7 separate regions of the Homo sapiens genome follow, and all the other regions are linked to region 5. The links are contacts of gene promoters, found by promoter capture Hi-C in human tissues and cell types (Jung and others, 2019). All regions are on one chromosome and are shown on one strand. The core of a region is centred on a gene start or on the middle of the fragment in contact, and the rest is flanking DNA. Distances in the headings are between cores, read along the strand shown. Region 1 overlaps RNASEH2B (ribonuclease H2 subunit B). Region 2 has its middle 42 kb from the start of DLEU7-AS1. Region 3 has its middle 21 kb from the start of DLEU7-AS1. Region 4 overlaps RNASEH2B (ribonuclease H2 subunit B). Region 5 holds the start of TRIM13 (tripartite motif containing 13). Region 6 overlaps RNASEH2B-AS1 (RNASEH2B antisense RNA 1). Region 7 has its middle 59 kb from the start of RNASEH2B-AS1.

What was found. The method cuts DNA at HindIII sites, captures the fragments that hold promoters and counts their contacts. A contact is called where the count stands out against the background at its distance.
Region 1: a contact is called between a fragment that was not itself captured here and the fragment with the promoter of TRIM13 in region 5, in 2 of the 25 tissues and cell types used here (dorsolateral prefrontal cortex and lymphoblastoid cells).
Region 2: a contact is called between a fragment that was not itself captured here and the fragment with the promoter of TRIM13 in region 5, in 3 of the 25 tissues and cell types used here (lymphoblastoid cells, mesenchymal stem cells and spleen).
Region 3: a fragment that was not itself captured here is called in contact with the fragment with the promoter of TRIM13 in region 5 in 3 of the 25 tissues and cell types used here (IMR-90 fibroblasts, lymphoblastoid cells and mesendoderm cells).
Region 4: a contact is called between a fragment that was not itself captured here and the fragment with the promoter of TRIM13 in region 5, in 1 of the 25 tissues and cell types used here (lymphoblastoid cells).
Region 6: a fragment that was not itself captured here is called in contact with the fragment with the promoter of TRIM13 in region 5 in 4 of the 25 tissues and cell types used here (dorsolateral prefrontal cortex, heart left ventricle, hippocampus and 1 more).
Region 7: a fragment that was not itself captured here is called in contact with the fragment with the promoter of TRIM13 in region 5 in 2 of the 25 tissues and cell types used here (dorsolateral prefrontal cortex and heart right ventricle).

What each region holds. Positions count from the first base shown.
Region 1 is chr13:50,951,863-50,954,755 of GRCh38, reverse strand. It overlaps RNASEH2B (ribonuclease H2 subunit B), which reads right to left. Exons shown (of 11, transcript NM_024570.4): 10 at 771-851. Among named protein-coding and RNA genes, the nearest start is that of RNASEH2B-AS1, 43 kb to the right of the region's middle. The HindIII fragment of the contact is 3,908 bases long and covers 1-2,893 here.
Region 2 is chr13:50,764,835-50,767,676 of GRCh38, reverse strand. It overlaps a transcript of DLEU7 not described here. Among named protein-coding and RNA genes, the nearest start is that of DLEU7-AS1, 42 kb to the left of the region's middle. The HindIII fragment of the contact is 4,034 bases long and covers 1-2,842 here.
Region 3 is chr13:50,785,808-50,788,765 of GRCh38, reverse strand. It overlaps a transcript of DLEU7 not described here. Among named protein-coding and RNA genes, the nearest start is that of DLEU7-AS1, 21 kb to the left of the region's middle. The HindIII fragment of the contact is 8,678 bases long and covers 1-2,958 here.
Region 4 is chr13:50,928,370-50,931,224 of GRCh38, reverse strand. RNASEH2B (ribonuclease H2 subunit B) reads right to left here. Exons shown (of 11, transcript NM_024570.4): 3 at 1,643-1,750; 4 at 466-542. Among named protein-coding and RNA genes, the nearest start is that of RNASEH2B-AS1, 19 kb to the right of the region's middle. The HindIII fragment of the contact is 4,324 bases long and covers 1-2,855 here.
Region 5 is chr13:49,995,610-49,998,568 of GRCh38, reverse strand. It overlaps TRIM13 (tripartite motif containing 13), which reads right to left and starts at 1,527. Exons shown (of 2, transcript NM_213590.3): 1 at 806-1,527. It overlaps DLEU2 (deleted in lymphocytic leukemia 2), which reads left to right. Exons shown (of 14, transcript NR_152566.1): 11 at 1,150-1,495. MIR3613 (microRNA 3613) reads left to right here and starts at 2,068; the gene lies at 2,068-2,154. RefSeq lists silencers at 1,791-1,920, 2,511-2,560 and an enhancer at 2,101-2,230. The HindIII fragment of the contact is 11,924 bases long and covers 1-2,959 here.
Region 6 is chr13:50,884,638-50,887,880 of GRCh38, reverse strand. The region is part of intron 2 of RNASEH2B-AS1 (RNASEH2B antisense RNA 1); the gene reads left to right. Among named protein-coding and RNA genes, the nearest start is that of RNASEH2B, 24 kb to the left of the region's middle. The HindIII fragment of the contact is 5,967 bases long and covers 1-3,243 here.
Region 7 is chr13:50,968,346-50,971,357 of GRCh38, reverse strand. It overlaps a transcript of RNASEH2B not described here. Among named protein-coding and RNA genes, the nearest start is that of RNASEH2B-AS1, 59 kb to the right of the region's middle. The HindIII fragment of the contact is 4,557 bases long and covers 1-3,012 here.

The DNA of each region.
Region 1 (2,893 bases), core at 39-2,538, 960 kb before region 5:
ATATTTCAATTATGAAAGAATTCATGTTCTCCAAGCTCTTAGTCTTAGTTCAAAATTGTGTCTAATGAAATGATTGGAGATACAGACTGTAAATAAGAATGTCTATCACTTCAATAAAAACAAAAAATAAAAAAATCAGAAGTAACCTATATGTCCAAATATAGGGAAATGATTAAATTACATTCCATATGGTGAAACAAACACCCATGACTGAATATCATAAAAACATGAATATTTTTTCAAAGAATGTTTAATGATATGTGAACATTTTCACAATTTAATGTTAAATAAAAAGCCCAGAACTGAGTATTATAATGCCAATGTTAAAGGCCACATATGTATTTATAATGCATGTATAAAACTAAGTAAGGACTGTTACCAAAATGCCATTTGCCAGGGTGAATGCTGAATGGTGAAATTATTAATTTTTATCATCATAATTTCTGCTTCTGGGCAGCAGGGTTGACAAAAAATTACCTGTAGAGCTTCCTCCCTCCTTTCCCACCCTATCACTCTATGAATACATAGCAAAATTTAGGCACACTCTTGATAAGTAGTATATTGTTTTTCTCTGACTAATAATAAGTCTTAGTTGCTTAACATTTTCATTGTCATATGCAATTCTTAATTATTAAGTCACAGAAATGCAAGTTAATAATTCTTCCTGGTCAAAACTGTAATCACAATCAAGCGTGCAACTGTTCCTCATGTATTCATGCACATCACGCACTGAGTATGAACGAAACACCACTACACCTGAACCCACATACCTTTTCAGTCTTCAAATCTTTAGTATTAAACTTAGTGTAATCTTCTTTTGCTTCTACAGGCTCATCTGATAACTTTATTTTCTGCAACATTAGAGCAGTGAAGTGGTGTCAAATGTCACTTTGACACAACATCAATCCATTAAAAAAAAACCCAACATGTATAATTTAGACCTCTACAGAGGCGAATGGGACAGCAGACCCAGCAAAGGGCTTACTTTTTACAGGCTCCTTTACATTTTGCCAATCATCTAGGGAATTGAGCCACACATCACTCCTAAGAAGCAGCCTTGGTGATGGTGGATATGATTGGGTAAGTACATGGCTGAGCCCCTTAGCTGGTCCAGCAAACACAGGCTTTGTAGGTGCCAGGTGTGGTGGGCATGAGGGGATTGCTAATTACCAGATGAATGCAAGGCACAGAAGTCAAAATGAGAATAGTCTCTTGAAGGGGGCCAGGTGTCCAGCCAGAATCCCTATTTCATTTACCTCCTGGGCCAGTTTAATGTCCACTTATGAATGAAGGGACAATATTTATCTTACTTTATCCATGCAAGAACAACCTTGCACAAGCAAGCAGCCAGTAAGAGAGGGAAGCACAGAGAGGCTAAATGAATAGCTTAAGGTCACCAAGTAGAGGACTTTGGCCAAGATTTCAATTCTGATACAGTGTTCTTTCCATTAGGCCCAATGCAACTAAGTCAGACCTTTACTTAATATTTTCTCCTTTCACATGAACATTTTACACCAGTGAATGTGAGAATCTTGTCAAGGCCTTAATGATCACAATATAGAAGAAATCATGCCACACTTATTATGTAAAAGGTACAAAAGCAGGGAAGACAAGTCTTGCTGTTGAACATGGAGAATTGACTGCATGGTGATCACAACCCAGATTTTTATAATTTTCAGGCTGTTTATGGAGACACCAGGTTGACCAGACCCAACATGGATCTAACCTAGGAAACAGACTTCTTCCCAGCTTCATTCTTCATGCCCCTGCTTTGCTAAACAAAGAACGGGTAGAGTTGGTGCTAAAAGATTCCACAGCCCATGGTGTTTTATCCCATAACCCAAGAGGATAAAACACCATGTCTTAAAATTGTTTGCTGTAAAAAAACAGAGGCTCATCCTGGGAATATACCACACACTATAGGAAAACCTCTTGGCCACACAGCAACCTCTAGCAAATGAATCATTAAAAGAAAAAGACTAATCCATCACAAATGAACCACCTATCAGCACCAAGTGAATGTATATTTGCAACTTTGTTAAGAATATATGTTTCAGCTTGGTGCAGTGACTCATGCCTGTAATCCCAGCACTTTGGGAGGCCGAGGTGGGCGGTCACTTGAGGCCAGGAGTTGGAGATCAGCCTGGCCAACATGGCAAAACCCCATCTCTAATAAAAATATAAAAATTAGCTGCGCATGGTGGCATGTGCCTGTAGTCCCAGCTACTCCGGAGACTGAGGCACAAGAATTGCTTGAACCTGAGAAGCAGAGACTGCAGTAAGCTGAGATTGTGCCACTGCACTCCAGCCTAGATGACACGGCAAGACTCTGTCTCAAAAAAAAAAATACATGTTTCTATTTAAATTAAGACAGCAAAGGGTGTTTAGGTGATGCACATTTTTTACTAGAAAGGTATCTTCAGCTAGGAGGGTGAAACTCACAGCTAATAATGCTGAAGGCCAAAATATTTTCAAAACACAAAAAGCTTGAAGTTATGAGGATGCTTGTGTTCCTTCTCTATGGCAAAATGTTCCTAACACAGATGTCATTATAAACACTTAGACATTATTCCCTTTTTTTCTTTAGAGACAGGGTTTCACTGTGTTGCCCAGGCTGGAGTGCGGTGGCTATTCATAGTTGCGATCATCATATACTACAGCCTTGAACTCCTGGGCTCAAGCGACCTTCTGCCTTAGCCTCCTGAGTAGCTAAGACTACAAGTGTGTGCCACTGAACTGATGAGGTTCACTTTTCATTGATAATTCAAATAAAAAGTGTTCATTACAAGAACTTAAGATGAAAGGTACTTTTGTATGGACATAAAATGTTTAATTGGAGAAATGACTTGTTCAGGTGTTTTAATAGCTCACAACAAAACAAGATACCAGTTAC
Region 2 (2,842 bases), core at 267-2,766, 770 kb before region 5:
GTGATGCCTTGAATTCTGGTCCTATTTTCCAACTTCCAGAGTCCTACAATAGCTGTCCCAGGTGCTAGAGCTCCACTGGGGAAGACAGACAGGGTTCAGTATGCTTCTCCCTCTTGAACCATGGTCCCATGAACTAAGTCTTGAGCATGGTAAGCCTGAGCTTACCATGAACATCCAGGTGGAAATGCATGTCTGGAGTTTTTTTTTTTTTTTTTTTTTTTGAGACGGAGTCTCGCTCTGTCGCCCAGGCTGGAGTGCAGTGGCGCGATCTCGGCTCACTGCAAGCTCCGCCTCCCGGGTTCACGCCATTCTCCTGCCTCAGCCTCCCGCGTAGCTGGGACTACAGGCGCCCGCCACCACGCCCGGCTAATTTTTTGTATTTTTTAGTAGAGTCGGGGTTTCACTGTGTTAGCCAGGATGGTCTCGATCTCCTGACCTCATGATCTGCCCGCCTCGGCCTCCCAAAGTGCTGGGATTACAGGCGTGAGCCACCGCGCCCGGCCACGTCTGGAGTTTTGAAACAAGCTCTGGGCTAGAAATAAACATTTCAGCCTTCAATGTATAGATGTTGTTCTCATTTACAGAAGTGGATGAAAGCCATCAGGGATAGTGTGTAGGATAACAGAAATGGACTGTGAATAGAACCCTGGAAACTAGCAACGTCTAAGTAGTGGGCAAAGGAAAAGGAGCCAATGATGAGGGTTCAGACAGGCAGGAGAAAAACCAGGACACAGACCCAGGGGAGACAAGTCTCCACTCCAGCTGTCTTCTGGCTGTGCACACCAGTGTTGCTCTGTGTGTTTGGCCAGCATTTCCCAGGGTTCTGTATGTACAGCACCTGTATCAGAATCACTGGCAGGGGTGGGGCGTGGGGGGTGGGATGTCAAGTGTGTCGAGTCTTAGGCCATGCTCCAAACTTCTTTAATTATAGGCATAAGCAGTGGGGCCTGCCTGCCTGAGTTTAAACTGGCTGTGCAGGGATTTCTCATGAACAGTTGGAAAGCCAATTCCCTAGGCCTAGGGAATGTAGGGACTCCTGAGCCTGTCACCAGCATAAAGAGAAGGTGCTGAACAGAGGGAAAAGTAAGAGAAGAGGAGGAGAAAGGAGTGATGATGAGGGAAAGAGAGAGATTCCCGAAGTTTGGTAAGTGGTGTGGAAGGAGAAAGAAGAGGAAGGGGAGATTAAGAGGAGGAGTAGGAAGAGAAGGAAGACAAGGAAAGAGACCATTTATTCTCTTATTCTCATTATTTCAAAGCAGACATACTAGGAGTAGCTGAATCTTGGGTTCATCTTCCATGTTTGCAGTCTGCTAAGAGCCCAGCACGAGCCTGCAGGGCTCCAGGCTGGGTGAGGAGACAAGGAGACGGGTGGAGTGCAGCCGCTGCAGCTGTGCTGAACATGATGCCGAACGTGATGGGAGTGAGCAATTTGGGCTGACAGTATCCTTCTTTAAACAGCATCCAATGCTCAGTGAGCCCTGTTGCTTTTACATGACTTAATCAACATAGGTTAATTGGTACATTTTGTGCCAAATCCAGTAGTCATGTTTTATGCTGTGTTGCTCTAGCCAGACAACATCTGTTTGGAAGGGGAATGAAACTTGCTGAGGCAAAGCTACACGCATCCTTTTCTCTCCACCCCACCCCCAACCCTCCTACTAAAGAGTACATTTAAGAAATCTTCTGAAAAAGTCCAAAAGCTAATGTCAAGTAGAAACCACATTAGATGAAATGGGAATTCATCACTAAAAGTGCTTAGAGAAAAAGCATTTGACCCCTTTTGAGCCTCCAAATAATCCACGCAATGCAAGTTTTCTTGGCCTTCACTTGCTGTCTTCTCAACCTTGGTTCTTCCCTGTTGAGTGCCTCCACAACAATGGCCATGTCTCCTTCATCTTCATATTGCTGGCTCCCAGTACAGTGCCTGGCACATGTGAGGGGTTCAAAACTTTTGCTGAACTAAGCTTAACTTTCATTCTAGTGTCATTTTAACATATCTGTGTTCTCGGTGTCTTCTACATTTCTTCTTTCCTCCTTCACATTTCTCCTGGTCTTCTTCCTTTCTATCTGTTTATTTTATTCTCTTCTTTGCCCTTTCTGTCTTTTACTCTTCTCTCCCCCAGGGCCTGATTATTGCCAGAAGAGGACCAAGTTGGGAACCAGAATGTGGAGAAAACAAATTCTTCCAGCCTCTTCCAAACTTCCTTCCCTCCTCTTCTTTCTCCTTCCTCCTCTTCTTTCTCCTTCCTCCTCATTTTCTCTTCCCTTGTCTTCTTCCATTTATCTTCCTTTTTCCTTCCCCTGTCTGCACCCTTCAGGCTTCGCTTTCTAAAGTCCTCCATGTAGAAACATCTTATTAATGTGAAGGATGCAGTGCTATTTGAGTCATTGGAGTAAAAGCCATTTTTCATTTCCTAATAATACCCTGTCTTTAGTGATTCTTAATTTTGAATAAATTCTCCTCTACATCACAAACACAAATTCATTCTAAGGTGCAACATGGCAGTGGCTCATGCCTGTAATCTCAGCACTTTGGGAGGCTGAGATAGGTGGATCACCTGAGGTCAGGAGTTAGAGACCAGCCTGGCCAACAAGGTGAAACCCTGTTTCTACTAAAGATACAAAAATTTACCAGGCATGATGGTGCGTGCCTGTAATCCCAGCTACTTTGGAGGCTGTGGCAGAAGAATTGCTTGAACACAGGATGCAGAAGTTGCAGTGAGCCGAGATTGCCCCACTGCACTCCAGCCTGGGCAACAGAGTGAGACTCTGTCTCAAACAAAACAAAACAAAACAAAACAAACCCAAAAAAGGTGCAACATGACCCATTTAATATACTTCA
Region 3 (2,958 bases), core at 333-2,832, 790 kb before region 5:
CTCTCATCATTTCTGTGGGAGGGATTTTCCTATGAATCACTTCCACATTTGAACATCCCAGGCGAGGGCCCTTGATGCTATTTTCCTCTCAGGAAATATTTATTCCCTTGTAATATTTTCATTTCTTGGCTCCTTGAAGAGTGATAGAGTCTCACTCTGCTTGTCACTCTAGGACACAGAGGACAGAGTGGTTGCTCTGTGTTCTTTCTGAAGCCCTGGAGTTGGAGATGTAGGCAGCCATTGATGGAGGCTCAGTATTTAGAGTGTCCTCGACAATGAGGTTCTTTCTGCTAAGTGCCAGGAATTGTTCTTTTGACTTCAACCTTTTCTTTCACAGCCTTGGTATTATTCGTCAGTGTTTTCACACACACGCACAGGAGGGTCTGGGGGAATGTGTTGGGAGATGTCACAGGCCAGCCCAGAACTGGTGCCCACATTTCCACCCCCTCTCTAAGAGGAGGCTGAGGAATGTGGTCCAGCCATGAGCCCTGAGAGGTGAGGAGATTGGTTTGCTGGGTGTCTAGCCAGGCTCCAACCAGGATAAGTGTTGGAATAAGGCAAGAGAGTTGGTTAAGAGAATACTTACAAGGCTGGGGACAGAGCCTGCACACAGCTAGAGACTGAGAAATGCGAGGTCCGGTGGAACTCAGCCCCTGCCCTCAGGAGTCACAGTTGAGAGATAGAGATGCTATCAGATTATCTAACTGTGGGAGAATCCTATGGTGCTGGGGAAACGCCTGCTGTGCCACGAACAGAGCTGTGAGAGTGGAAAGGAGGGAAATGTAGGCTACTGGCTTGGGCTTAGGGGAGGTTTCACAGCAGAGGATCCATCAGAGTGAGTCAGAGAGGAGTGAATATGGGTTTGTGAAGAGGAGACGTGGACAATGGGTATGAGCAGAGGGAAGGCGCTGAGCTGGGTGGTCCAACATGAGTGGAGAGTGAGGCCACAGAGTCCATCGGGGAGATGGGGGTGGAACTGGTCTGTGGGGATAGATGGCAGGGAGTCTTGGGTGCTGCTATGTAGGTAGTAGGTCATTGTTAAAGGTGGGGGGGAGGGCAGGGGAATGACATGATTGGATCCATGTTTTAGGCAGTAGGTCTGGTGACCAGTGGAGAATGAATGGAAAGTAGGAACAGCAGGGGGCAGGGAGCTCAGTGAGGAAGCTGTTTCCACACCTGGGGCAAGAGGTGTCAGCAAAGATGCAAGGATGGCAAGTGGGAGGTGGTTCAGGTGACTTCTGCAGGGATTTGATATGGCCAGTGAGGGGTGCCGCCCTTTGATTTGCTCCATCTTTGCTATCTCCCTGCCCCCAACACATGCTGGTGTTCCATTTCCCTTTGAGAGTCATGGGATATGAAACCCCAAATGCTACTTTAAATGTTAGTAATTACAACAGAGAATGCAGACAATGTTATTCATTTCTCTTCTGATTTAACAGTGGGAGGTCCCTGTTGATTGGAGAAGTAATGCTAACAGTAACATTTCTGAGCTTTGTGTTTTAAATCCCCTCCTGGGCATTATTAAGCAGGCCTGACCTCACCAGGAAAACTCATAGTCAGTACAGCATTTACTAAGTAAACGCCAGGCACTGTTTTAAGGACTTTTTGTTATGTTAACCCATTTTATCCTCATAATAAGGAAGGTGATGCCAGAAAAATTATCCAAAACTTGAAACGAAGGCTAAAAGGTGAGAGACATGTTCTTTCAATATCATAGGAGAGAAAAGGCCACTCAAGGATTTTCTTGAATAATGTCCTTGATTTACCTCATCACTCAACTTTGATTAAAGTTCCAAGGCTTAAGGAAGTCACTTGTTAATTTGAAGACTTTGGTCCAGCAGATTTACAAATAATTTATCATCAGGGAAACCGAGAACCTCAGTGATTTATGGCATGTTGGACATTACCCAGATTATATCTAACCTGGCAATCTTATCCTAATATTTCTCTGTTAAATTTTCTGTAAATATCCTTACTCCTCAGATGCCCTTTGAGGGTCATAACATTCATTTTTAACTCACACAAAGAGTTAAAAAATAAAGGATTTTATGTTTTCTAAAAATTCCATTTTGAAAATTATCATTTGCACAGAGAAATTATGGGGTTTGCCCAAGGACAGAGAGATTCAGTTGGTAAAGCTGGGATTCTCACTCAGGAAGTCTGGTTCCAGGGAAGTCCTGTATTTACCCACCATGTATTAGTGAGCAATTTTCTCCATTCTTAACTGTTCTGGATTTCTCTTCCTGCTGAATCCTACGAGTATTTATTTCATTTAACAAATATGCACTGAGCTGCTACTATGTGGCAGGTTCTGGATTAACCTACATGGTAAATTGTATTAATGTTGTATAGTACACGTATACAAATTAGCTCTTATCTATGTGTTCAGGAACTAAAAAACAAAACAAAACAACCAAAAACCAGGCAAGGAAACTTCTGGGCAATTACATAATTTGCTGTGTCATTTCTTTAGAGTCTTGTGATTATCTATGAATATGGCATATGGTGAACCAAGTGTATTTGCCACACAGGTAGAGAGAGAAACCAGAATGGGTAAAAATCAGGCTCTTTGATGATGGGGTTCAGGCCCATGTAAAGTCCAAGAGTTAGGTATTTTCTAGAACCTTGAACCCATCAAAGTCTTATTAGTAAAACCACACAAGCAAAATGATGTCACACGAAAGTCTCCTTCTGCCAAATCTCTGCCACCATGATCTGCTTCAAAACGATGGCTGCCTGGAGTTTCTCCACCTAATTTTCATCTTAATGCTGGTCCTTTATGCTAGAGTCTGTTCAAGCAATTATGAGTAGTGGTTTCCTTCTATTCTGGCGGCCAGTATGTTCTGTCATTTTAAAGGCGTTGCTGCCTTTAGATAATGAGAGTATAGAATAAAGGGCCTGGAATATCCATGGCCACACCTGTATTTCTATCTCTCTGTTCCCTGAGAACATTTGGCA
Region 4 (2,855 bases), core at 181-2,680, 930 kb before region 5:
GGGATTCCTTAAGTCTCAACTAGCACATCACCATTAATGAGCTTCTATTGGACCCGCTCCAGTTTACCTATTCCACAGTCTCTCACTAAAGAAGAGACTCTTTAAGACATGTGGTCAATTTTTAAATACCTGTTTTGTATTTCAAGTGTAAGGAATACTTAATGATAAAGGAGTGTTAGCTGTCAGGCTTTGTCAAGCAGTAAGGTGCACAGCACAGTGAGTCAGGCAAGTCAGAGGTCACAAGCAAGCCAGGGTCAGACTGGATCAAGAGTAAGGTGCTGCTTCTCTGGCCTGTGCAGTAGTGCTCTGTCCTGCACTGGCCCATATGATTCATGTTTTCTCTAGTCACTATAATAGATCTGAAGGTAGAATCCACCTTTGGATCATTAAAAGGAGAGAGAGGAGATCAAACAAAAATAGTTGATTCTGTTTCCTCACTGTGGATGCTCCGAGCTGGAAACTCACCTCCTTATCAGCCTTTATGAGGTAGTGGAGAAGCAGAAATAGAGGATCCACAGGTGTGGCAAAATGGAGAAGACCTCCTGCAGATTACAAAAAGGATGAAGGGAATTAAACGTCTTGGAAAGACAATGTGGCTATTTCACCTTAATCTCAAAGTGAAAAACAGTGTTGAAAAATATATGTGAAATTCCAAATTCAAATCTCTTCTTATACAGGCCTCAGAGTCTATGTGATTCTCTCAAAAGGCAGAATGTGCTCTATGAGATTTTACTCCAAAGAGCTTCAAATCCCTGTGTGGAGAGGAGAACCAAGACCCTGAAATTGATCTTTAACTTTCCATTTCTTCTTTAGAAATCATTTTTAACACAGCCTCCCAACCCCCTGAAAAACGAGGGGTTAGGAGGAAGCACAGACAGAATGAGAAGACGGCAATGTTAGGGAACCTGTATCGTCAGTCTATCTATAAAGCTGCAGTAAAATGTAATTTCCTGTGCTTTTGAGGACAAAGCCATGGGAAAGCAGTGCCATTCTCTCTATACACAGTCCCTTCCGTGGTCTGTGGGCAGGGGGATGTAGGATTCTTTGAATAGCCACTGACTGCCCCCACCCCAGAACATGAGGCAGAACAGTTCCGTTGGCCTACTCTTCCTTTAGTCAGCACTGCCCCCAAATTAAGGGAACACCACAAGAAACAGAACTTTGGTGCTGGGGGGTGTATGTGTGTATGGGGGTGGGGGAGCAGGTGGGCAGGCAGGTATATGACAAAGCATTTTAAAGAAACTTTGTTATGCTCTAGCCTATGTTAGAAGCCATATCAGTATCCAGTTTCAAGGAAATAACATGTTAAAAACACAAAGATCCTCAAAAGAGTTTCTAATCAACACAATATGTGCCCCATGTACAAATCTAACTTCTAACTCAGGATGTGTCACTGTTTTAGGAGACAAATCAGAGTTGCTAGTTTAAAACTTCCTACCGTCTAAGACACACAGGAGATGACTTAACCTTAGTGCTCAAATGATCTTTCCTTTCTCCTTGATTAAACCTGCTCTCATGCCAAGGAAGGCTAAACCAGTGACCAGACTCCAAACCCGGTGACAGACCCACAACCCCACGTGTGAAGAATGGAAAAGCTGGAGTATGTGTTTAGTTATTGGAAATGCTTACACTAGTCACCTACCTGATTGAACTGATTGATTTATAAACCAAGAATGGTGTTTTTCCTTGAAAACTTTTACTTCAAACAGCTGCTGTAGACACATATTGAACAAGTAAATGGCTCCTTCTCCTGTTAAGACAAATCTGTCTTTTATTTGTAAGTTTTCACACACACACACAAACACACACACACCCCAAAAGACTATCCAGTATCTCTGACGAATGTTCCTAATATGAACATAAACATACACAGGTCTATTCTAAAAAACTGATTCCAAGGAAAGCTTACAGCTATTATACATAGATGGTAGTTTTCCAGCTCCATAATCCTCACTGGACTTAAACCAAAAAATTAGAAAGTGCAAGTCATTTATCTTAACTAATACAAAGCCTGTCCTTAAATCCTCCATCAGATCAAGAGGGAATATCCATTCCTAAACTATCAAAACACAACAGTTCAGCCATATGACATGAGCTGGCACGTGGGTCCCTGCCTCTGGGCAGTGTGTGGCTCTCCCCACACAGGGTCTGACAGGGACCAAGCCACAGGCCAACCCTAAGTGAGAAAGACAGACATGCTTGAAGCCATAGGGAGTGAGTAAAGCTTTATTCAACTGAATGAATTTTTTTTCCTTTCCTTTCTTAACCAAAAAAAAAAAAAAAAAAAAAAAAGGGAGGAGGCACAAGAGGGTGAAGACTGTGCACATCTGCATGTTTTATCACTTCAACTAATGAAAAAAAAATTTTTTTTTTAACCACAGCACAATCTCTGGAGACAAGGATGCTGACTTTAACTCTATCTCCACCATATGCTGGGCACGTGCCCTTGGAGAAGTTACATAAACCTTCCTGTGGCTGTTTCCACATCTGTAAAATGGAGACAATACTGAACCTCCTCAAGGGTTTTTATAAGAATTAAAAAAAAGAACACATGTAAATTTCCTAAACCAATACTTGGCACATAGTAAGAACTCAGCAAATGTTAGCCTTTACTTTCCCACTGCCAATGTAGCAAATAAAAACATTTGTTCCTCTGTTGTCTATGAGCATTTAGATAAAACAGAAATTTTAAAAGAGGGCTGGCTTTCTTCTGTACCTGTACTTTTCTTAAATGCTTTAGAACCTTTACTGCTACCTAAAACTTCTCTTGAAGAAATATTTCTCACGTCAACTTAGTCTGATATATAACTAAGATTTCTAAATATAGCTGACCAATTACAGTCAATTTCATTTTG
Region 5 (2,959 bases), core at 278-2,777:
AAACTACGAAACTATACAAACATAAATAAGGTTTAATTACATATGGCAAACTCTACACATTTAAGGTGTTATTTTGGAGCATCAGTGTATCAAGCAAGAAAAGGTTCTAAACTTGAACTGTGATTTCAAGGCAAGGCAAAACAAATATTACATAAGGTATCAGGTACAAAGCAGTGTCATGAAAATGAGCATATCTGAACAAAAGCTGTGACAGAATTAAGGCCAGATAACCTATCATAAATGTATAGAATGAACAGAACAGCCCGGTTTTAGGAAAGGACTTCCCAGGGAGGTTTAGTAAGCCAGCTGGGAGAAAGGAAAAAAAACGTATTTTTAGGGAGGGATAGGGACGCTCCCATTGTGCAAGAAGGAAGTATAGCCGGTTAACAGCTCCATCAAGTTCTACTAGAAGGAGTGCCTATGTAAATGAAATTCTGCTTTTAAAGTGCCTATTATATAAAGGTCTCTAGAAAACTCAAGCCCTGTTCTACAAGCCCTAGCAGCCTGACAATTCACTAAGCATAGGAGAAGGGAAAAAAAAGTAGGAAAAAAGTGTGGAAGCCCCTTTCTTCCTTTGTAATATGAATGTTTGGCTATATTTAAGATAAATACCACATAAATAATTGCTAAACGTGAATTCTGTTTTTCTAAGTTTTAACAAAATATGCAAAGAACAAAGACCACCAATGAAAGTGGATGGGAACATACGTATTCTACACACAGTTCCATTTTGGAAGGTTCTAGGGCCTATTGAAATTGGGTGTTTAAAAAAAAAAGATAACACAGGAAAATTATTGTAGTTTACCTCTGTCTCCTACAAGCTGATGTATTTGGCAGGGTTACTATTTCCCAGGGCAAAGCAGGTCTTTTTTTTCACGTTTTGACTAACGAACTAGAGGCTACTGCAAAGAAAGAAGAAAAAGAACAGTATTAACGCATTTATTTGCACAGCACCCCAATCTTGACCCTCAATTTTTTCAATCGCCCCCACAAATAAAGCCCGGCTGTTTAGACCTGGTGAACCGCCAGGAGCCTGGAGCTCTTTGTATTAAGCAGCTTCTCGGTTAGGGCGCCCTCCCCCGGCGCCATGCAACCAAACGCTGGCGGCGCGCTGTAACCTAAGGCCCACACCCGTCTTTTCTTTTCTAGGGGATGTGGAGACGCTGGTAGCGGGGCCAGGAAGGCTCCGGACGGAGCAGGTTTTCTGGACCACAGACACACTGCCCCGGCGCCCTCCGCAGGCCGCTCCTCCCCAGGCCCATGACAGTGCCCCGCTGGTTTCTGCCGCGCTGCCGGACTGGAGCTCAGACGGCCTTCGCCAGCCCCCCCAACCCACGCAGATCCCTGCTGACCTGGGCAACTCCCCACCCTCGCTGAAGGTTCGAGGACCACCCCGCTTTCCCGAGAGGAGCCGGGCGGCGGGTACTTATCTCCGACCTCCGGCTAGTGGGAAAGGCCGCGCGACCGCCCGTCCTCCAACTACAGGGACCGCACGGTACGCGCCAAGCACAGCCCCAAAATGGACTCGCGGCTCCGGCTAGCTCCGCCCCCTTCCCTCTCCCGCTTCCCCTTCCCCTCCCGTCCCTTCCCCCTCCCCTCCCGTCCCTTCCCCCTCCCCTCCCGTCCCTTCCCCCCTCCCCCTCCCTTTCCCCTCCCCCTCCCCCTCCCTTTCCCCTCCCCCTCCCCCTCCCTTCCCCGTCGCCCGCCTCCGCCTGCACCTCCGGCCCCGCCTCCCCGTCCCGCTTCGCCTGTGTCCCGCCTCCCCGGCCGCGCCTCGCCTTGGCGGAGGGAGCCGGGTGGTGAGACCGCGTTCCTTCCGGCGTCTCCAACCGCCGCCTGCTCCCGCCGTCCACCCGCGCGGGCCGCCTGGGACGGGGAGGGCCGGGCTGCGGGCTTTTCTCCCTTCCAGAGTCCTGCGCCCGCCCAAAGCCCCCCCGCAGAGGCTGGGCAGCGGCTCCGGGAAGTGGACGCCGTTTGCCCAGACGGTGGGCTCGACTGAAGCGGCGCGGTCCCGGGTGGGGCCGCCCGGGAAGAAAGTCTCCCAGTTAAGCTGCCGTGCAATTAAGATGGTTGGGTTTGGATTGTTGTACTTTTTTTTTTGTTCGTTGCATTTTTAGGAACAAAAAAAAAAGCCCAACCCTTCACACCACTTCATCCGCATCTCAAGACCAGAAGCCGACCCCAGCGGCTTGGGGAAATGGAGCCCCGCACCCCACAAGGGGGAGGGTGGGACGGGCACCTCCGCACTGCGCGGCCTGCGGAGTCACCGATTCGCGTTGGGAGCGCGCCAGGAGCGCCAGGGCTCTAGCCGGGGGCTCCGGGCAAGGCGCAACCAGAAAAGGGTTCAGTATCCCCCATCACCCCCACCCCCAACCGTACCCTCTTTCTTTGCGGGCTTTAGGCAGGACACCAGAGACCCAATTCTATTTAAAATTCTCTTTTAAGAAAAGGAACGCCTGTTTTTGCCTTTGGGGGAAAGGATGAACTTTCAAATTGGCTTTAAATTATCCACCACTAACAGTTACTCAGTCGATAACCTGACTATTCTGACGTCCACCTCCCGTTTGAGGACCTTGCCCAATAGCAAACGTACTAAGCACTTAACCAGTGAACGGTGTGAAGGATGCAAACATGGATGATGAAGGAATGGCTCCTCCAGAATTTACGATCTTGGGAGAAGTGAGGCGAGTATAGAATCTCAGAACACGCTGTAGGATTGAGTTCGATCCCAGTTGAGGAAGTTTGGGTTTGGGGAGGAAATAGGTTATTTTGGAGAAACGGTATTCAAAACCTACCATAAATAGCAGTACAGCCCGTTGACTAATAATGCTTAGCCCAACCCCCGTAAAAAGCCCCTGGCCACATCCGTCTCCTGAGATTCCCACTTCTCTGTGTGCATCTCCCTTCCTGCTATAAGAAACCTAACTTTGCCTTCGTAGAACACTTCTTTTAATTTCTG
Region 6 (3,243 bases), core at 124-2,623, 890 kb before region 5:
TAACTGATCCAAAGGAATTTTTTTACACATAATGTCGCCATAGAATGTTAGACTCTTTTTATTAAAAAAAAAAAACTGATTATAAATATTTGCACATTTATAAGAGGAGTTTTCAGGAATTTGACAGGGCACACCTAGAACCACCGGGGTGGTGCTCAGGACCCACCAGGTACACCAAGGACCCACCAAGCACAGGTCCAGCCCCAGTTGTCCATCTTGCTTTATCTATTATTCACCTTTTTTGATGTCATATTGTTTTATCCATAATTAAGTCAGTAGTATATAAATCGAACAGATGAGCATTTTTAAAAACCACAAACCCACCATTCCATTATCATACCTGACAAAATTAACATTAATTCTATTATTTCACCTATTACGCAGTCCGTGTTCAAATGTCCCCAATTTTCTCAAATATATTTTACAGTCCTGTTGAAATCACAGAGTAAAGTCCACAAATTGCATTTGGTTGAAATGTCTCTTAGGTATTTTCTAATCTATGAAAGTTCCCACTTCCCCATTTTTAGCCGTTTTTTTGTTTGTTGAAGACATTGGTTCATTTGTCCTGTAGAACTTCCGGCATGCCAGATTTTGCTGATCGCATTCTCATTCAACCCATTAATCTAATAACTTGTTCCTTTGTATTTTTCATGAGCTTGCTGCCTGAGTGTGAAGCTTGCTTAGATTCAGATGCATTTATTTTGGCAAATACTCCATAGGTACTATCGCGTGTTTCCGATTGCATTCCATCAGGCGGCACATGAGGTCTCGTGGTCCCATTTTTAGTACTGTTAACACTGATCAAGGGTTAAGTGTTGTCATCTAATCTACCCTTTCACTAGTGTTTTCCTGAGCCTCTGACAGATGCTTCATTGAAAATGAGGTCTGGCGTGCCCATCCAGTGGAAGCATTTTGAGTTTTTTATTGATTCTTAAATGTCCTTTCTCATGGAAGCCTTCCATGTCATCCAATTAAAATGGCAACTCCTCACTCTCTATTGGCTTTCTCTGCTTTTTTCCTTCCTCCATGGAATGTATTAGTATTTCCATCTTCTATAAACACATTACTTATTTCCCCCAACCATTGTGTATGCTCCACAAAGACAAGGATTCTTTTTTTTTAATTAGTAGACTTTATTTTTTAGATCAGTTTTAATTTTAGAGAAAAATTGAGTAGAAAGTACATAGAGTTTCCTTAATGCCCTTTCCCATCTCACCCTAACCCCCCTAAATTTCCCTTGTTATTAATATCTTGCATTAGTGTGGTACATTTGCTACAACTGATGAACTGATCTTTATGCATTATTATTAACGTAAGTTTACTCTTTGTTTCGTACAGTCTTATGGGTTTTGGCAAATGTATAATGTCATGTATCCATATTACAGGATCACATAGGTGATCCTAAAAAATCCCCTGTGCTCCACCTATTCATCCCTCTTCCCTCCATCCCTGAACCACTGGCAACTTCTGATCTTTTCACTGTCTCTATAGTTTTGCCTTTTCTAGAATGTCTTACAGTTGGAATCATACAGCACGTTGTCTTTTCAGACAGGCTTCTTTCACTTAGCAATATGCCTTTAAATTTCCTCCACATCTTTTTGTGGCTTGACAGCTAATTTCTTTTCATTACCATATCATATTGTATTGTCTGGATATATCACAATTTAGTTATTCATTCACCTACTGAAGCCATCTTGGTTGCCTCTAAGTTTTGGTAATGATGAATAAAGCTGCTATAAACATTTGTGTGCAGGGTTTTTTGTGGACACACATTTTCAACTCATTTGGATAGACACCAAAGCGTGTAATTGCTGGATTGTATGGTAAGACTACGCTTAGCTTGTAAGAAACTGCTAGACTGTTTTCCAAAGTGGCTGTACCATTTTGCACTTCTACCAGCAATGAATAAGAGTTCCTGCTGCTCCACATCCTCACCACCTTTAGTGAAGTTTCTGTTTTGATCTTTTGCCCATTTTTAAGTTGCATCGTTTGCTTTCTTAATGCTGTTTTAAGAGTTCTCTTCATATTTTTGATATAAGTCCTTTATCAGATGTGTTTTGTAAATATTGTCTTCCACTCTGTGACTTGTCTTTTCATTCTTTTAACAGGGAAAGTAGAACTTTTTAAAAATCTGTTTTGTTTTCTGTCTTATCTCGAGTGCCTAGAACAGTGCCTAGTTTATAATAGCTGGTCAATCTAGTGAATGCTTGCTGAAAGTGGTCTATATGCCTTAGGTACAGCTAAGAACAAAGTTGACACTTGATTGTAAAAACTAAAGAGCTGATCCAATTGGAGGACTATTTCACTCTTCACAGAATTAAAGCTTTCATTGACCAACAGCTGTGATTTTATCAAAACATTCATAAAATTGAAAGTCTTTCTTCCAAATTGGAGGTAGTCTTAAAATAATCTAATTTATTTTACAGTTAAGACCCTGAGCCCTATTCACAGAATGTCAATCTCTGCTCTCCCAATGACCACTTAAGGCCTAACAGAATGACTCTCAAGTTCTTATTTCTCTGAGACATATTCTCTAATATTTTCTTTTAGGGTTAAATAATGAAGTATTCAGACATAGAAAAGTACAAAAATAATCACATATTCCTATCTTCACCGTATCATAATATTGAACTGATTTTTACATTTTGTCATGTTTGTTTTAACTCTCTCTTCTCCTCCCATCTTTCTTGGAATAAATATTAAAGGAATGGCTGAAGCCTCAGATACCTCATCCCTACCTCCGTCTCTACCTCCATTTTCCCTCATTAGTACCCATGATGGTGAAATTGATGTATAATTCCCATACAAGTGTTTGCAATTTTTAATGTATTTATATATACATAACTAGCGTATTGCTTTTTGTGTGTTTGTAAAATGACACAAATATTATATTAATACTAATCAGATCATTCTGGGTGGTAGACACTGTGGCATGGCCCACCAGATCTTCAGGACAAGGCACTTGCTCCCTCATTTGGAGATGTAAGCTTAGAATAGCTTCCAGTTGAATCTCTCACCAAGAATTCCCTTTGGCCATAAGCCTTGCCCAAAGTCACACACCCTCCCTACAAGCATCCACTGACCATTGACTGGGAGAGGGGATAGGGCATTTATGACATTGGAGTAGGGAAGTATTTATTAAATAAGATTTTAAAATATAAATCACAAAACGAAAATGAACTTGAATATCTTAAAATTTAAAAAATACCTCTGCACAATAAATGAAATTATATAGTGAAAAAG
Region 7 (3,012 bases), core at 242-2,741, 970 kb before region 5:
CAAGTGCTGGAGTTTTCTATTTCTTGATTTGTCTTAATTTTAATTTTCCCATGAGGTATTTCTGAAGGAGAGCTCAATAGGATTGGATTCTTAGATGAAACGATGAAATGGATTGCATGAACAGTGACTGTAGGGCTGCTCGGGCTGCAAGGCAAAAGATAGAAACTGGAAGTGGGAAACTGGATAACTAAGAAACATGCTTGATTCAGGGTCAAGGATGCAGTCACCCAGGGGAGCCTGAGTAGTGCTGGCAGTGGGAGGTGGGGATCACTTCTGCCTTCTCTTTTTGTGAGAATGTATCATGAATTACTTGTGAAAAGAAAAAAAACAACCCAATGAAATCTTGTAATGTTAGGTGTTTGAATTTAAAGTGTTGGAACAGAAACTTGGGGCACAGGTAAGACAGCAGGGTTTCTAGTGACAAACTTGGACATTATCAATATCTAGTGGCTTTGGTTTTTGCAGAGGGAAGATTCACTTTTCCACTACAGAAGGGCAGGAATTTTTAAAGTCCTTTGAGGTTAACAAAAATTTCTACATGTGAAGGGAGGTGTGGAAAAGTGGCAGACTACTTCCCAGAACTAGGATCTAATTATTAATACTCCTTGTAGTCAGAGATTCAGAAACAAAATTATTTCCTGAAGAAGCAGATTGGGGTCCTGTGTGAATGCGGGAAGATCAGCTGAGCAGCACCCACACATTCCTCTTGCATGTCAAGTGGACAAGCCAGCTCAAATCCACAGACATTTTTGCACAAAACCTCCCACTACCTGCTAAAACATATGCACTACGCACCAGATTCCCCACCAAATCACTTTTTGGCATCTACTTCCAACCTTCCGTCATCTCCTATGTCCTTACTCTGAAAAATAAAATAATACACATACTGGACAAATCTTCTAAAAAGGAAGAAATGTTTAATAACTCCTGGAGAGATAAAATGCCAACGTTTAGGTATATTTATGAATTAGAAGCTTCCAAATTGATATGGAGTAAAGCAGTGTCAGATTTTTAAAGTAAGGGTTGAAACTTGGTTTGCCAAAGCTTTCAGGGTGAAATCAAGACAATCAAGTACTTTAAGTCACCACATCCATACCTAAAACATGCTGGCCTGACCCAAGCTTGAGGTCCTCAGACTGAACAGGTGCACCGCTGGGATGCTTTCAAGCTCCTGGACGGAACCGCCTAGCTGAGTGCTCCAGGGAGGAATGCCGCTGCCCACATAGACTAGTGGTACTAATCAAAGAAATAAAGCATTTACAGTCAGCGCTTTAAAATGCACCTTTTGGCACCTGGCGATTTTCCAAAAAAGTGCAGAAGAAAAAGTCCGAGTCCTCTGGGAGTGTCTGAAGTTGCAGGGAAAACCGCCAAGCCTTGCGTGGAGCCACCACCATCACTTGCCCCTTTTCTGTCTTTGTGCTGCCATCTAGAGAGGAAAGGAAAACATGTGGTGTGTCCTGGTGAGGAGAAACAGTCACCTGAAACCCCAAGCACCATCTGCAGCTCCTAGAACAGAACGCAGGGCTGGCGGGTTTAGTCCTGAGGGCAGCTGAGCATTTTCGCTTCTAAGAGATGACCTCAGACACAGGAAGGGGTTCCCATCGTGGCCAGCCTCCGAGATCTCATTCTAGGGTTCATAGCAGGCTCCTCGAGAGCACACCAAGAAGTATGTTTTTCTTTGAATGTTCAAAGGGAGTGAAATATAATGTTGGGGTGGCCCAAACTTACAGGATGGGCACCATCTTATAGGAAAAAAAATAAAATACAAGAAATGCACGAAAGTAACGTTCTGAGATGAGTAATTCTTAAACCATTTTTCTTTTTTTTTTTTTTTTGTAGAGGCAGTTCCTTTTATAAAAAGCAGGAAGCCTTGTGTAGACTCCAATGTATAAAAAATAGATAAGCATATACTTGTTGCTGATAGAAGTAGTAGCACCTAATGTCCCTGTGAAGAATGTACTGAACAAGTTTAATTACTACAAGTTGATTTTTTATTGAGTGCAAAGTTAAAAATAACGTATTCTGGAGCTATATGTTACAAAAAAAAACATGTACATGGAAATCAAACTTCTATGCCAGAATGTGGATGAGAAGGAAGCAAGGCCTTCCCTGACCACCCACTCCCCAGAATTCAGTGCCCTGCCTGGTCAGCTTTTTCCATAGGCCCTGGCACTATCTGAGATATCATCTGTCTACTCGCTCTAGAATGGAAATTCTTGAGGGCAGGTTATTTTTGCCTGCCATGTTGATATCCGCATTTCCTCTATCTACAACATGTCTAGCACACAGCAGGTGCTCAGTACATGCTCTTAAAGGAACAAATAAATCTAAGTTGATTCCTTAGCTTCTTTTGCTTGTTTATGCAAGAACAACATGTCTAACTTTAATTTTACAAGTATTCTGATTTCAAACACGTGTAAAGTAACAATTATTTTAAAGTCCATGAAGAAGCTCTGATTTCTCTGTAAATTTCATTTGGTGCCGTCCCCCATTTCAAATAGTCTTGATTAGCCTGAGACCATCAAAATAACATTTATTAATGAAAGTACAGTAAATGCTAAAACACTGACAGCTGAATTAAAGATTTGACATGCAAATGTACCAGCTAAGTAGAAGCTTTACTTAAATTCTGGCTTGCCATCGTTGAGGATAAATTGACCTGCAGAATTCATTATGAATAAAGCAAGAAGATGCAGCAGAATAAATGTGATTTTTTTCCTTTCTTAAAATAAAATTTGCAATTAAAACAGATTATTTAAGGCTAAATGGTCATATAATGGTATGAATAGGAACCTTGGGTAAACAAAAGGAACGAGGCTTAGGCTTGGCATCTGGGCTTGGCCACCTACTGTCTGTATGACCTCACACAGACCATCAATAAAATAAGGATACCACCTCTTTCTGGTCTACCTTGGAGGGTTGTTGTAAAGATTAATTTATTTTATTTTACTTTTTTAAGAGACAGGGTCTTGCTCTGTCACCCAAGCTGAAGTGGAGTGTTATAATCATAGT